Regions from separate parts of the Homo sapiens genome. Here region 1 is linked to region 2. The links are contacts of gene promoters, found by promoter capture Hi-C in blood cells and fetal thymus (Javierre and others, 2016). All regions are on one chromosome and are shown on one strand. The core of a region is centred on a gene start or on the middle of the fragment in contact, and the rest is flanking DNA. Distances in the headings are between cores, read along the strand shown.

Region 1 (3,572 bases), core at 1-2,500, 630 kb before region 2:
CTGAACCCTGGATTTGTTTCTCACTGACTTCCAAGCAGGTGTTTCATCTGCCTAGCAGGCCAGGAGCAAACCAAGGGTGGGTGGAGGCTGAGTCTTCTTCTCTTTCTGTGCCCACTACTGGCTCTGCTTGAACCATCCTAGACAAGCCGCTTCACCTCTCTGGAACTCAGCTTCCTTCTCCATAAAATTGGGGCTATGAGAATTACTTTCAAGATTTAATGAGATAACCTGCATAAATGTGCTTAGCTCAAGGCCTAATACAGGGCAGCTACTATGTAAACATAAACTGCATTACATTCAGATTGCACCTCCCCATCAGTCTGCAAGCTCTCTGAAGACAGGAATTACATCACATTACTCTCAGTGCCCCCCACAGCCCTGATGAGCACAGGGATCTTTCTAAATGTTTGTAGAACAAATGAATCAACTGAGAGAGGAGTAGAAAACCAAGGGTGGTGACTGCAGAGGTCTTACCTTTCGGGCTTTCTTGGCTTTGACCTTGGGCCGAGTATCCTGATTCTCCTGAGACTGGGCAGCTGCACTCTCAGGCTCAGGTTCATCTGCTGGGGCCTGAGAGGGTGCAGCCTCAGTCTCCTGAGCCTTTGTATTGACCTTTGTATCAGCCACATGGCTGACCTTTTTGGTCTCAGTGGCAGGCATTGTCACAGCCTGCGGGTCAGCATTCTGTTTCTTGGTGTCAGCTGCTAGACTCTTGTTTTCAGCTGCCAGAACCTGGGTATCAGTCAGCTGAGTAGTAGATGAGGCCTGGGTGGCAGGTGCCTCCCGAGCCTCTGGGGTCTTTGAGACCTCTGTGGCCTTTGAGACCCCAGAGGCTTTTGAGACCTTCACATCCTCTGAGACCTCCAGTGCCTTTGAGGCCTTCGGTGTCTCTGGGACCTCCACATTCTGGGTCACTGTCAACAGAGTCTGCATCATCGAGCTACTGTCCTTTTCTGAAGCTTCAGCCTGCAAGAGGAAGCAGGGAAGTTCATAGACCTTCTCCTCACCCCCAACTAAGCAAATGGCTCCAAAATTCCAAGGCCACACTTCTCTGACCTGTACTGACTCCTACCTGCGGTGTGCTCTGACCACCTCAGCCCAACAAGGCCTCCCTTTCCTCTGAGCAAGAACTGATGGCAGAAGAGGGGCCCGCCCACCTTCTCTCCCTCCCTCCACTGGGCAGGGGGACACCCAGGCAGGAAAGTAGGTGGAGAAGGACAAGGATGGGAGGGGAAGAGCCAAGGGACTTGGGGGCAGCAACAAGGGCTGGAGAGGAAAAGCAGCTGGGGAAAGGACAGAAAGAGGCCTTACCTGGAAGCGAGTTAGACCTGCACCACTCTCGCTTGTGTCAGACATGTCTCAATTTGGCCTGGCAAGAGCTGAGCCTGAAGGGGAGAAGGCCTGGGTCAAGTTGAAGCCCACTGAACGTCCTCTCCCCTGTTGTGCCTGGAGGCTGATCCTCACCTTCCGTAGGTCCCCAATTCCAACCCCCTCCACCACCCCCAACGACTCCGTTCTCAGATACAGGAATTCAAAGCTTCTAAGTCTCAATTCTCTGCAGCCGCACCCTCCCCTTCTCCAGGAAGATGTGCCAGCGCGGCAGCTCTGAGGACCCCGCCCCTTTTCCCAGTGCACCCCCCACCCAGCCGCAGGTCGATAGAGCGCATGCGCGTCGGCTGCAGGGCCGCTCTCAGCCCCGCCCGCTTTCCCAGCACGAGCCCTTTCTTTGATGTCCACCGTGCACATGCGCATTCAGCAGCTGGCTCTTCTCAGTGCTGGCCCTTCTCAACACGCCCCTTTCTAGCGAAACATAGTGCGCATGCGCAATGGTCGTGGTCTCAGTCTGGCACTCTGCCCCAACACACGCCCCTCTCCAGGTCCGCAGTACCATTCGGTCCCGCCCCCTGCCCAACAAGCCTTCCTCCAAAATTGTCGCAGTGTCTGGTGGACCCGGCCCCTCCCCTACTCACGCCCTACAGAGTCCAGTGTCTCTTGGCCCCGCCCTTCTTCCTAACACGCCCCCCTCCAAACAGGCGCATCTTGGTTCCGCCCCTTCCCTATTACACCCCCTCCTCAAATAAATACTGAGCTAGTGATTCCATCTTGGGCCCGGCCAAACCGGGTCCAGTCCCCTCCCTTCCCAGCCGGATGGATCCGGTACGATCCGGTCCTTAAGGCAGGTTTTCTCCAGATCCCAGAGGGTGGGGCCGACCCCTAGCGGGGCTCTCATCCAAAAGCCGACCCGGCTGCTCACCTCGTCCTCCTACAATTCCCGAGTGCGTCCACTCACTCCAAGCCCCTCCGAAACTCGGAGACTGCCCTCCCCTCTCTAGGCCGGAAGTGGTCCCGCCCCTTTCCGCCTCCCTAGGGGGCCTCCGTCCCAGCCTGTCTGCCCCTCCCCCGCTCCCTGCTCCTCATTCCTTATGCCCCCCTCCGTATTCCCTTAGCCTGGCTCCCTACTCCCTATTCCTACCTCACATTTCCTATTTACTCCAGAATTCCTTCTTCCCATTTCTTACATCCTCCTCCGTGTTACGTTTGCACACCCTGCCCCTCAGTATTCCTTAATCCCTCTCTGCATCCCCGATTCTCTTCTCTGGATCTTCACTCCCCCTCAGTGTTCCCCTCCCTCCTTGTATTCCTCGTCCCCCTCCCAACATTCCTGGTTCCCCGTTTTTCTCCCCTCCTCCCTCCGCTAGTCTCTGCTCCCAGTCTGTACAGCCTACTACTTTCTCAGTCGTCCTCATTGCCTACACCCCACTCCAGGTCACCTCTGCTTCAGCTGCAGTGGTGCAGTAAGAATTGCTCATCTGCCTGGCTATGGGTTCGAGGGGTCTGGAACCACTGTCTGACCTCCATAAAACCCCAATATCAACGCCCCTCACCTTGTCCTCCAGCGAGTTCGGGATGCGTCTGCCTTCTCTAAGTCCCTCTCGAAGTCTCAGCCTCCTGGACTAGAGCTGCAGACAGCCCAACCCAGCCCAGCCCCTTTCCGCAGCCCCCTGCCACCCCCCCTCGCCTTCCTCGGGGGTGGGGCAATGGGGCCCCGCTCAGGGCTGTCTGACGCCAAAGCCCATGTTTATGCCACTGTACCAGGCTCAGTCTGAAGCTCTTCCAACTCAAACCGCCCCCTGAAAGCAAGTCATTCATTGAATTTATTTTTATATCTTCATTTTTTCTTATTACAAAGGTAATATGTTGTTCTTTTGTTGTTGTTGTAAAAATTCAAACAATGCAGTAATATATAACACACCAATGAAAGGCCACTCATCTCCCAGAAATAACCACTATTAACATTTTGCTATCCAGATTTTTTTTCTATTCGTATACTAATTATTCAGGTTCTCTCTCCGACAAATGGTACACTATACATACCTTCTGTTCTGCGACCTGTTTTTTTCCAGTTATATATAAAACATCTTTCCGTTAGTGCACATTTTTCTAAACAGCTGCATGATCTTTTCTTGCATAGATGTCCCATAATTTATTGAACCAGTCCAGTACACATGTACATTTAGATTGCTTGGTGCACTTTTTGTTATTTATGGTATTTTTTGCTAGCTCAAATGCTA
Region 2 (5,277 bases), core at 1,341-3,840:
AATCTTGTCAAGTTAGGCTCTTTGAAGCTTCAGATCTGCTAAAGGAAACAGCCTGGATCATCCTGTTGTGGCTTCTATTCATCACATTTAGGAGCGCTGGAGAACAAGGAGTACTACTTAGGAGGCAGATATAGATAACTTCGTTCCAATTGCCTTGATGCCAGTTTCCTAACTGGTGAAACCTTTGAGACAAAATTGAGATTCTGCTGTAATTCAGCAAGGCCAATGAATATCTGACCCTCAGCAAATGCAGATCTCTTGTTATAAGCAAAAGGGGCTGCTGTTTTGAGTCCCAAGAGCAATAAGCAAATGCTTCACTGCCAAATAACACAGAATGCCAACTTCCTTCCTATCAACTGATGCAGAGGTCTCTGATCTCTATCTGTTCTACATTTTAGGGTCTCTACAAAAAATAAAATTATTCAGGCATGGTGGCATGTGTCTGTAGTCCCAAGCTACTCAGGAGGCTGAGGCTGAAGTCGAGGCTGCAGCGAGCTGTAATCACACCACTGCATTATCTGGAAGCTGGGAATTGAACACAATGAAGACTCTATTTCTCACCTTTGTTCTTCTCTGAAAGTCTGCATTTTTTCTCTCTTTCTGCAGACCAGCATCTTTCACTTCTGTCCCTCTGGTGGGAAAATTGGTTGACAGCTTCCAAGCTTTACACTTAGAGAAAAGCTGGTATCTCTTGTCTAATTGCAAATTTCTAGAAAATGAGATTTTGATTGCCCCAGGTTGGATTAGCTGCCCACCTCTGACCCAATAAGCTATGGTTATAGGAACACGACAGTTTTTGCCATAACCCTATAAATGGGGGAAGGTGGAGGGTCAATTCCCGGAAAAGAGGGGCTGGGCAGACCGTCCCACACGTGTCCATTATACTAAAAAACCTCCATTCCTTCCATCCTTCATCCCTTCAAGCCACTGCTCTCTCCTTTCACTGCTTGCTTTCAAGAGTTAACTATGTACACTGCCTTGCCATCTACTTATTCTTTGACAATCTGGCTTGTTCCATCTCCACTATTTTATAATTTCTTTTATGTAGCTTGAAGCTTTTTTGCTTTTGCATCCTAATAGAGTATTCCCCTATCTCATTCATCCCGATCACTCTTGGGTTCTGCACTTCTGCATTCTAACTCTGCCTGCCATTATCTCCCATCTTCCAGTAAGTTCCAAGCCAGATCTGGCTACTACTCATTTCAGATCTTGTTTTCTGCTTTATTCCTGCTGAAAGAGTGGGCCGGCCCTAAAAGCCAGAAAGAAGACAGGCACTGCATCTGTTTCATCTCAGTATGTTGAAAATACATTTTTCAAAAGATTATGACTCCATACATCTGAAATTAGAGCCCTTGCAGCTATTTAGAAAAGCTCCCGACAGACTAAAACACAATGAAGTTTGGAAACCAAAGGCCCTAACCATAGGACATAGTGGATCTAGGAGTACCAAAAAGGTACAATTTGTAATGTAATTTGTGTTGGTAATTATCTCCCTGCCCAAAGAGATGCTGAGGGCAAGGATATTCGATTTAACTTTGTCTCTGCATTGCCTTAGGCAAGTAAATAATGTAAGTTTCTTTTTATTTATTTATTTATTTTTGAGACGGAGTCTGGCTCTGTCACCAGGCTGGAGTACGGTGACATGATTTTGGCTCACTGCAACCTCCGCCTCCCAGGTTCAAGCGATTCTCCTGCCTCAGCTTCCCCAGTAGCTGGGATTACAGGCACGTGCCACCACGCCCGGCTACTTTTTGTATTTTTAGTAGAGACGGGGTTTCACCATGTTGGCCAGGATGGTCTCGATCTCCTAACCTCGTGATCTGCCCGCCTCGGAGGGATTACAGGCGTGAGCCACCGCGCCCGACCAGTTACGTCTTTCTTAATTGGGACCAACAGCTCTTTAAATATTATCTTTCCACTAAGGGGAAAATCCTCCCTCCTGGGGAGTTTTAGCTCACTTTAGCTGAATTCAGTCAATCCACTCTAACTTCCATTCCCATGATGCATCAATCCATCCCCCAAAACTCTTTTTCCAGGAAAAAGCAGTAAATAACCTAAGCAACTCAGTGAGATGCAAGGAGTTGGAGTGCAACTCCTAAACACTCATCATCACGCCCCGCTTCCTGTGACCCTGTGAGCACAAGGGCTGAGAAGGGTGGTAGTCTGGTTCCTCGACTATATCCTAAGGCCATAGAGAAGACTACAACTACCAAGATGCCCCTCTCCCCGCCCCGCCCCGCCCCTCCTCGCTCCCCTTCCTCCAGCTAGAAAGCGTGTACCACCGAGAAGACGAGGCAACATGGCTCCCGGAGGTGGAAGAAAGAGGCTTCACCCCTTCTAAAGCGGGAAGAAGAGCGGCCGGAAAGGAGAAAAAAGAGAAGTGACTAGAGCCCATCCTCGCTTTTATCCTCCCAGCCTCTCCCGGGTCCGGTCTGCCCCTCCCCTTCTCTCTACCCAAATCCAATTTGTGGTCTCCTCCCCTCCCCGCCCTCATTCCCTCGCTTCCTCACCCCTCCCCTCGGGAATCCTTTTCCCGCCCCCCCTCGCCCCCCGCGGAGTGCGCACGCGCCCGCCCCCAGCTTCGCGCCCAGATCGTCGCCTATCCTGCTTGCGCAGCCGCTATCGCGTCTGCCCACCGACGAAGCATGGGTGTCCAGGGCTTCCAAGAGTTCCTGGAGAAGCGCTGTCCCGGGGCCGTGGTGCCCGTGGACCTCCTAAAACTCGCGCGCACGGTCTCGCGCCAGCAGCAGCAGCAGCACTTGCACCGCCAGCTGCCGCCGACTGCAGCCCTAGCGCCCGGGGCTCCACGCGCCGCCAGGGGCTCCGTGCCTCTGCAACCGCCGCTTCCGCCCGCTGCCTTGGGTGCCTACTCCGGGGGCGCGGGGCCGACTCGGCACCATCACCCCGCTCACCACTTCCACCATCATGGCCAAGCGCAGCCCGGGCTGCACCCTCCGCTGCCGCCGCCGCCGCCCCCTCAGCTGCCCGGGGCCCGGGTGCTGGTGGACGCCGGCTCGGCGCTGCCGCGGCTCTATGGCGGCTACCAGACGGATTGGGTGTGTGGCGGCCAATGGAACGCCATGCTGGGCTACTTGTCAGCGCTGTGCCAGGCTTGTGCCTATCCTGGCGGCGACGGCCTGGAGCTCGTGGTCATGTTCCCGGGGGGCCTGGGCAAGGACCGGCTGGCCGAGTGGGGCCGTCGGTGCCAGGCCGAGCGGCAGACAGCGCAACTGATCGTGGGACACGTGGGCAACAAGGGCACCCCTCCACCGCGGGCCTGGTTCCTGCCACCGGCCTGCCTGAGCCACTGCGTGAGGCTAGCACTCATCCGCTTCCGGGTCAAGGTGAGGGAGGGGCCGGATCTTAAATAATAAGCCCCACACCTATTCCCTCCCAACTAAATACCTAACCACCTACCCACTTACCCACTACCCTACCTCCCATCTACCCACCCACCTACCCGCCCAACAGCTAACCTACCTGCCTAACTACCCTCTACCATTTTATCCATTTACCTCCCCCTTCATACCACCCCCTACGGATTCACTCACCTACATGGCCATATCTCTACTCATGTCATCCCAGTAGCTCCCTTTAGCTTCCCTTATCCAATTGGCCTACCACTAGGTTTCAGCAGAATCTAGTCAGAATTTCTTTTGTAGCCTCATCTTTCTCCTGGTGTCTTCTGCCTCAAACTGAAATGCCTTTACCCTGCTTTTGCCAGTTGACATCTCTCTCCTGTATCTCTTTCCAACCTCGCAGTAAATCACTTAAGCAGGTGTGAACTGAACACCTTTCTTCTACATTGTTTTTCCGTCTTCACCCACTGCTGCTTTTTTACCCATCTGTGTCCATTCAGCCTTTTTCATTTCAACATGCATCTTCTTCCTCCTGCCTTAGCCTAAACACATAAAAACCCACTGATTCAGTCACTGTTCAGCAAGTATTAACTCACTGAGTGTAAGGGTTTTAAAGACATGTGAGACACTGCTCATGCCCTTGGAAAGTTAAATGTATACACATGAAACATTTAATTATAGCAATGTGTATGTGATTATGCCTTATGGTCCAGACAGTAAGTACAGTTCCTGTTTTCTGTATGTGGGAGTGGTGGGATATCTTTGGACTAAAGTGGTCAGGGGAGGCTTCCCTGAAGAAGTCGGACCTCACCTGGGTCTTCAAAGGTGGATTGGATTTGAATGAGTCACAAGCTTGGGAGGAGGCTGCTTTAAGTGGGAGGAAGAAAATGAGCAGAAGCAAAAAGGAATATTAAGTGTGCAAGGCCCCATAGGCAGTTAAGTCCAATCTGCATGTAGTTGGGTCACTGCATATGGGGCCTGGGGAACAGCTTGGCAGCATCCCCAGTTCTTGGCACCACTGCTGCTGCTCTGTTGCTTTCCCATACTCTTAGGTTTCAAGTTCCTACGTGTAGAGAATAGCAAGGCTTGGGAAGTAAAGGAGGTGGGCAGGAAGAAGAAAAAGAAAAGTAGTACAGGGTTGGGTAGAAAGAAACCGCAAACCTATTTCCCCAACCAAGGTTCTTGGGGGTTGTCCTTACAGTTAGACAGAACAGGGGATTGTGGGAATCACTTAAGAAGTGGTGTCGGCTGGAGTAATGAGGAGGAAAGAAATTTTAGCTCAGAGACTAAAAGACCTAAACAGAGAAGCTTGCAGTGGTTATAGAGCTTGTGGCTAGAGTCCAGTCATGCTAGACTCGTTCTCAGCATCAAATCTGTGCCTAGAGTGCCTAGATTATAGTTGTTTTAATTTAAACTAATCCAAACGTGAGCTATCTCATACAAGGTTAAAAAAAAAAAAAAAGGCACACATTTGCTTGCTCTTCTGACTGAACATTTTAAGGTAGATTCTTTATTCATGGCCATTCTTTCCACTTTGTTTTCACTGCTACCACCCAGGCTTTTAAGGACTTTTTAACCTCGTTGTTATTAACCTGGTTGCTGGCAATAGTGACCACATTGATGGAATATTTACTATGTTTTAGGTGTCGATCTGTGCACTTCTTTTAAAAAAAATTACCTCATCATCCTCGCAATAACCTATGAAAGCAGTATTATCCCTGTTTTCCAAATGAGGAAACTGAGGCACGGGCTTAGAAACTTGCCCAAAGTCACCCAGAGATAAGTGGCAGGGCTGAGATTTGTGCCTATGTGGTCTTCCTCCAAAGCTCATACTCTAAACAACAGTGCTGCTCTAAAATGAATCTTTCTAAAGTGCCACTGTGATTAGATCATTTCCCCACTCAGCTAAACTCTTCCT

The links. The method cuts DNA at HindIII sites, captures the fragments that hold promoters and counts their contacts. A CHiCAGO score of 5 or more calls a contact.
Region 1: a contact is called between a fragment that was not itself captured here and the fragment with the promoter of FAM120C in region 2, in 11 of 17 cell types (fetal thymus, activated CD4 T cells, naive CD8 T cells and 8 more). The highest score is 13.1, in fetal thymus.

The regions. Positions count from the first base shown.
Region 1 is chrX:54,807,116-54,810,687 of GRCh38, reverse strand. MAGED2 (MAGE family member D2) reads right to left here and starts at 2,943. Exons shown (of 13, transcript NM_177433.3): 1 at 2,886-2,943; 2 at 1,312-1,385; 3 at 475-966. The coding sequence starts at 1,356. The HindIII fragment of the contact is 578 bases long and covers 962-1,539 here.
Region 2 is chrX:54,180,567-54,185,843 of GRCh38, reverse strand. It overlaps FAM120C (family with sequence similarity 120 member C), which reads left to right and starts at 2,590. Exons shown (of 16, transcript NM_017848.6): 1 at 2,590-3,344. The coding sequence starts at 2,646. RefSeq lists silencers at 2,158-2,257, 2,828-3,037, 3,048-3,097. The HindIII fragment of the contact is 3,156 bases long and covers 1,058-4,213 here.